2 separate regions of the Homo sapiens genome follow, and region 2 is linked to region 1. The links are contacts of gene promoters, found by promoter capture Hi-C in blood cells and fetal thymus (Javierre and others, 2016). All regions are on one chromosome and are shown on one strand. Each heading gives the region's core, a stretch centred on a gene start or on the middle of the fragment in contact. The rest is flanking DNA. Distances are from core to core; before and after follow the strand shown.

What was found. Contacts are between HindIII fragments. The CHiCAGO score rates a contact against its expected background, and 5 or more counts as called.
Region 2: a contact is called between a fragment that was not itself captured here and the fragment with the promoter of MBL2 in region 1, in 1 of 17 cell types (megakaryocytes). The highest score is 5.0, in megakaryocytes.

The regions. Positions count from the first base shown.
Region 1 is chr10:52,771,534-52,775,228 of GRCh38, forward strand. MBL2 (mannose binding lectin 2) reads right to left here and starts at 1,251. Exons shown (of 5, transcript NM_001378373.1): 1 at 1,204-1,251; 2 at 1-111. The coding sequence starts at 102. The HindIII fragment of the contact is 7,250 bases long and covers 1-3,695 here.
Region 2 is chr10:52,328,910-52,332,604 of GRCh38, forward strand. No RefSeq gene overlaps it. Among named protein-coding and RNA genes, the nearest start is that of DKK1, 16 kb to the left of the region's middle. The HindIII fragment of the contact is 2,311 bases long and covers 401-2,711 here.

The sequences.
Region 1 (3,695 bases), core at 1-2,500:
TGCAGGGCAGGTCTTTTGGGCATCCTCACAGGTCACAGTTTCTGAGTAAGACGCTGCCACCATACTCAGGAGAAGGAGAGGGAGTGATGGAAACAGGGACATGGTCCTCACCTTGGTGTGAGAAAACTCAGGGAAGGTTAATCTCAGTTAATGAACACATATTTACCGAGCATGCCCTCTGTCCTACAATCTGGGTGCAGGCTATATAGAAATAGATGACCCATCCCTGGCCTCTAGCTGGGGATTTGGAAAAGTAAACATTCCTTGTGACACTGCGTGACTAGTACTTTAACAAAGGTAGGCACTATGATGAGCAGTGGGGATCCTAAGGAGGGGTTCATCTGTGCCTAGACACCTGGCGTTGCTGCTGGAAGACTATAAACATGCTTTCGGTGGCAGTGAGAACAAATGGGACCGTGCATTGCCAGCTGGCTTATGCCTGTTAGCTTAGGGAATGAGAATGAGTGGAAACCCAGGTGTCTGTAGGAGCTTCCTCTTTCTCTCCATGTCCTCTTCGGGTCCATCTGCCACCTGAATCCCATCTTTGTATCTGGGCAGCTGATTCCCCTCCAGGACCTGTTAACTATCATTTACTCATTGGCAGGCCCTGAGCTGAAAGCTGGTGATCCAAAGAGGAAGGTCTCAACCTCAGATCAACCTCAACCTTAGTCACCAACCCAGCCCAGAATTAACTGGAGTTTGCTTCCCCTTGGTGTTTTAGACAGGCTTGCCTGGGTAAGCATTTTCTCTGGAAATTTCTTACTACGTTGGCCCTGGCAGAGTGCTAAATACCTCTCTACTTTCTGGCAGGAATTCCCCATGTTCTGTGAGTCAAAAACCACTGGCAATTAGAAAACTTGCCTTGAATCCTCCTCCCATTTCTCAGTATTAACCTTTCATTTGTTCTTCAGAGCTTTCTTCCAGCTATTGCCCCCTAAGAAACCTCAGCAGCCTAGCCCCATAGGTCTAAGCCTCCAAGTTTCCCTTTGAAAACAAAGACAGTCTCCACTGCAGATGAACAGATAATGGAGGAAAGTCACAGATGCTCCAGCACAAGCAGAAAAAGAGACATCCTCAACCTGATTTCTGCTTTCCATCCCACTCCCCCCACCCCTAGAAAGCCTCCTCCATGCCTCCAGGGTCATGTCAGCTCCCCAAACCCTTGATCCGGAAACCCAGATTTATTCACCAGAAATGACTTACTGGTGTTTCTGCAGAGCAGGGACTCAGTGACAAGGACGCTGGCCCTCTAGCCTGGGGCTCTGGCAGATGCCTCAGAGTGAGGGAGGAGGCTGGGCTCAGCAATGTAGGGCCCAATCAACCTTGTGAACAAGGATATCCTGGGCCTGGCCTTCAACTCCAGATTAATAAACAGCTCTTCTCAGAACTATGAGAAATTTAGGAGCCTCCAATACAGTGCTCGGCAGCTGTCTGCTTTAATACAGCACAATTCCTCTTTCAATTGCCATCCATTTTGGCAAATCTCATTGCTGAACTACCACAGCTAGGTTCACCTAGTTAGTCCTGTTGACATCCTTGTTTCCAACAGAAAAACAAAGATACTCACAAATGCATACACATGCTCATGCACACCAACTATACACACAGACACGTGCATGCACGCACACACCCATCCATGAAACCACATAGACCTCTTGCTGCCATTAATGCATTAAGGCCATTCCTGCCTCAGACTCTTCATTTGATGTCTCCATGCCTGGACCCCTTACGGGCATCGCCAGCTAGCTCTTTCTCTTCTATTCAAATATTCCAATTTCAGAGAAATCAGTACCTTGATCACTTATTCTAAAATAGTCCTACCTAGCAGTCTCTATCCTCTTAGCCTGAATTATTTTCTCTCATGTTACTTACACTTTATGATATTATAGTCATTGACTTTACTTTTCCAGTTTTTCATTGTGGTAAAATAGACATAAAATTTACCATTTTGACCATTATTATTAAGCACACAACTCAGTAGCATTAAGTACATTCACACGGTTGTGCTATCATCACCACATCATGGGATGATTTTCATCATCCCAAACTGAAACTCTCAACTCATTAAACTAGAATTCTCCATTTACCCCTACCCACAGCCACTGGTAACTTCTGTTTTACTTTCTGTCTCTCTGAATTCATCTATCCTAGGTACCTCATATATGTGAAATCATACAATAGCCCCCTTGTATCTGGCTTATTTCACTTAGCACAATGTCTTCAAATTTCATCCTCATAACAAGAATTGTAAACTGTGTTAAAGACTTTGGGTTTCCTTCCAGGGGGCACTAGAGGGACTGCAGTAGTGGAGAGGTGATCACATTTGAATTTTGCAAGGCTTGTTCTGGCTATGATGTTGAGGGGAACAGGACTGGAGAAAAGCAGATCTAAAAGGAAGTGCTTGCCATGATCTAAGCAGCAGAAGACAGTGGCCTGGGTCAGGGTAATGGCAGCTAGATTAAGAAGGTAGGCACACTTGAGAAACAGGAGGTATTGATTGCACTTGAGAATTAGCTAGAATAGTGAGTGATAATAAGAAGTTTTCATGGGCACACACATTTATGACTTGACTATCTAGGAGCCACTCAACTGAGATAAGAAGCAAAAGAACAGCACTTGGCACTATAAGATCATGGGTATCGTGTGTGTTAATGGCTTGAACCATCTTGCTGTGGTTAATGGGGACAATCTAGAAGGGATGGAAGAATACTTTTACGAACATAGTTCATTTGATTCTCAACTACATTACTGATATGGCTTTCAGAAAAATGCCATGTAGCTTGGGGTGTTGGGGAGCCCATCCTGAGAAGTTCAGAGGCTGCGGGGCCATGTGGTGGGGGTACTATGGAGGCCTCCAAACACCAAAAGAAATGTGAGTAAGATGCATTTCCAGGTCCCTTCCAATTGAAGTCTTCTTGGCTTGTGGAGGGACTGGCTTCCTTACTTCCTGCTGACCTGTCTGCTGTGCCTGGAAAAATGTCCAGGATGGTACAGAGCCACATGCCTAAAGCCATCAGTGGATATCAGGAGATCCAGGGCCTAAAGAAGACAGGGCCTGAGAAGACTTGTTTCCCTTCTTATTCTTTAGCAGCCAGAGCTTCCCCCTGCTCCTGCTCCAGTGGCAGAAGGTGAGGTGAGGTAGTTGACTCCAGGTCACTGGCGGTGCTGGCTTTAATCACAGTGCTTGCTTTCATTGTTTACCTAGTCCAGAGGTCAGGAAACTGCTCTCCAGACCCTGAAATTTCCTAGAACTGGGTTCAGAGGGTGTGGGTATCTGGGGGAAAGTCAATCTAGCAATTGATCCGGAGATTGGAGTGTCACCCAGTTACATCCTGCTCTCCAGAAGGCCTTTCCCAAAAGGAGAGGCCACTCTCCACATGCCGCAGCCTGAATGTCTCTCTCCACACGAATGCCCACTCTGCACTCCACCCCATAGATAAGGCCACTGTGTGCATTTGTTCTGGACTTTAAAACCCTTCCCAGCCAGGCGTGGTGGCTCACTCCTGTAATCCCAGCACCTTGGGAGGCCGAGGCGGGCGGATCATGAGGTCAGGAGATTGAGACCATCCTGGCTAACACAGTGAAACCCCATCTCTACTAAAAAATACAAAAAAAAAAAAAACAACAAACTAGCCGGGCGTGGTGGCGGGTGCCTGTAATCCCAGCTACCCAGGAGGCTGAGGCAGGAGAATGGA
Region 2 (3,695 bases), core at 306-2,805, 440 kb before region 1:
GAGCCTTCCAAGTCTACTGAATCAGAACCTCTTAGAATTGAGCCTTTGCATCTGTATTTTTTTAAAGCTCTTCCATTGATTGCTATTATACATCTAATTTTGAAATCCACTGTGACATGGCCTTTAATCAAAATGCTTTACTCTAAACAGTATGGCCATATAGGGACTATGTGCAGAGAAAGAAATGATTGGCTGAGCACTTATCCTGAGCTAGTACTTGGGCTTGGGTAAATATATCATTTCATGTGATCGTTGTAACAGTCATGGCAGATATAATAAATGTTCACTATATCTACAAGGCAACAAGACAAAGAGGTGCTGAGAGATAAACTGATGTCCTTAATGTCACATGGCTAAGAAGTAATAGAATGATGACAGATCTGGATGCTTATTGTGCCAAAGCTTACTTTATATCAATGGCAACGAAAATGGTAACTTACTTTTATATCGCGTGTTAGTGTTTACTTTCTATGTTTGCAGATACCTCTTTGACAAAACACATTTTATAGATTTTTCAAACTTGGGATAAGAGGAACTCAAACTGAAATAAACTAAGGTTCTTAACTGTAGTCATTCTGATTTTCCTCTAGTACTCATTTCAACTGATGAAGTCTTACCTTATATTTTAAAGGGAAGTCTTCCCTGACCCAACATTGTATCACAGGCCAAGTCAGGTAATTTATGTGGGCTCATAAATTATTTTTCATAGCTCTTATTCTAATTCTAACAAACTATTTTTATATTTATTTATTAAGTGGATTTCAACCCCATCAAACTGTAATCTTCATGAGTGCAAAGAGCTTGGTTATTCTTCAATCCATAGCACCCAATTCTGGGCTTACCCTATAGTAGTTGCTCAATAAAGACATGTTGAATGAATCAGTAAACACCTATGCTATTTCCCCTGAATGGATTTGCCACTATATTATTCATAATACACATAAATATACCAAAAATTTTGAAATTTTGTACTAGAAATTTTGTAGTTTTATTTATTTATTTATTTATGGAGTCTCACTCTGTTGCCCAGGCTGGAGTGCAGTGGCATGGTGCAATCGTGGCTCACTGCAACCTCCGCCTCCCGGGTTCAAGTGATTCTCCTGCCTCAGCCTCCTGAATAGCTGGGACTACAGGCCTGTGCCACCATGCCCGGCTTTTTTTTTTTTTTTTTTTTGTATTTTAGTAGAGATGGGGTTTTACTGTGTTAGCCAGGATGGTCTTGATCTCCTGACCTCGTGATCCGCCCACCTCTGCCTCCCAAAGTGCTGGGATTATAGGTGTGAGCCACTGCACCTGTCCATTTTGTGTTTTTATTAACTACCTACTCTTTGTATATATAAAATAGTTACTCATAATTAAAACAGACAAAAATTACTTCCTGAGTTTATTATTAAATATTACTCATAATTAAGTAAAATGCAGACAAAACTGCGTCCTGATTTTATTTATTATTTCTTGTCATTATTGCTGAACTTGGATAATTTTTAATGCACAAATATAATCTTAAAAGCAGGAATTAATCACAAAGAAATATATTAAAAATAATTTCTTGTGATGTAAAATACTCCCATGTATTTTGCTATTTGCATTGTATAATGATTAGATGGTTTTGAGAAGATGAATGGCTTGTCTTATTTTGGCTTTCATAAAAAGAAATTTTACTTGCAATTGTAATTCACATTTACTGAGACAAAATAACCCTGTAGTCCTGACTAGCCTAACTTGTTCCTGTAGGTTGACCATATAACAGATCCTTTCACCATAAGGAAATCTACCTTTTTTAAATGGAGATGGAATGATATTTTCAACACCTTGTAATTCATGCAATAGCCCTAGCTAAATTAAAACAAATTCTATGGATGCCATTAATCAGTGGTGTTCTAATTTTATCTTCACATTAGGATCATCTGGGGACTTTGAAAAACTAACTCGTGCCTGTGACCCACTCCCAGAAAATGTGATTGATTGGTTTGGAGTATGGCCTAGGCTTCAAATTTTTTAAAAGATTGATGGTTTATCTTAATGTACACAAGTTTGGGGACTACCTTTATTAGTTTCTGTCTTCCTCAGACAAGATAGCAGAAATACGGATGTTTCTGCCTTAATCTTGGAATAGATTTGTGGAATGCCCTGTTGACTCTGAAAGTGGAATTTAGACATTGAATTTCCTGAATTTGCCTGCAAAGATTGCAAGTTAGAAAAGGGAATTCCAAGGTGTCTCTTAAACTTGGAGGTCTTTGGTAACCTATATGTCAAAGCCTAAGACTAGGGAAGTTTTGATAGCAAATTTATCAGTGAGTAGGGAAGCGAATAAGAATTAAATATAGACTTTAAAATATCTCTTATACCTCCACCTCTCAAAACATAGCCGAGTTGAATAGGATGATTATAATCCTATATTACCTAAAAGGTGGGATTTAAAATGAGTTTAACATAATATGATTTATTAGCTGAAGAGATAATAATAGCAAGTTTTAGTGAAGTACCAGTTATGTCATCTCGTAATGAAGACATTTACGATCCAAGAGGGAATATTTACATTAACACCATTATTAATATTACTGTGTGCTGACTTCACAAAATTCCCAAAGCATGGAATGCAATTTAAAAATCAATGGTTTCTTTTGTGCACTTGTACCCTAGAACTTAATGTATAATAATAATTGTTTCTGTGCCTAAAGAGACATTTAAAAGCTGTTGAAATTTTGAAAAGCTTGTGGTCTTAAAAATGGCTGAAATCAGTGTTCTAACAGCACATATTTAAACATGTGGCCATAAAGCATTTCTTCTTTCCTCTCTTCCTTCCTTCTTTTTCTTTCTTCCTTCTGCACGCTCTCTCTGTCTTTCTCCCTCTCTCTTTCTTTCACTCTGAATGACACATATCCCATCACCATGAAAGCCTTGTGTGCAACTGCCAGTTGACACGGGCCTATTGTGGAAGGCATAGAGAGTATGCAGAAAGTTAAGTACCAAAGAAAGAAAAACAGTAAACCACTTGCTTAAGCTGATCTAGTGTTTTCTATTCTTTGGACTCTAGGTTCTAAATAATTGAACCTTGATCTCATTTGAGGTGAGGAAAATACACACACACAGGTGGCCTAACTTCTAATTATTTCATTCCCAGTGAAAGGCGCAGGTGTCAAAGTCTTAAGGATTCTGATCCTTCATTTAGTGCACTAAATCTTTTTTCTTTCTTTTACACAAAGCACTGAACTTCCCTGTTAATCCAAAGTGATGTCTGTGGCTCCTTTCCCTCTACACTGTCACTTATACTAACTCCTTTGGCTGTTATGATTTGTTGTGGCTGCTACTGCTGCTTTGAAACCTCTGAAATTTTCTAGGACCCTGGTTCTCAGTCTTTCACTGCTTATTGGATCACTTGGGCTTCTCTAAAAACTACCAATGCTCATGTCCCACCCATGGAGATCCTGCTGTTATTGATATGGAGTGTAGCCTAAGCATTGGGAGTTTTTAAAGATTCCCAGGTAATTCTAATGTGCTGCAAAGTTTGAGAACCACTGTTCTAGGAAGTGGTATCTGTTACCGGTTTCCTTGCCCAGTGCTGACCTTTTCTAGTTTTGACCTTTCATTCATGAATATTTTATTGGTTTTATTTTTCAATGAGAGTACATAGTAGGAGGGAATCGTCAGCTGCATTAGCCTGTTGAGTGTTATATCAACTTATCGTACCTACT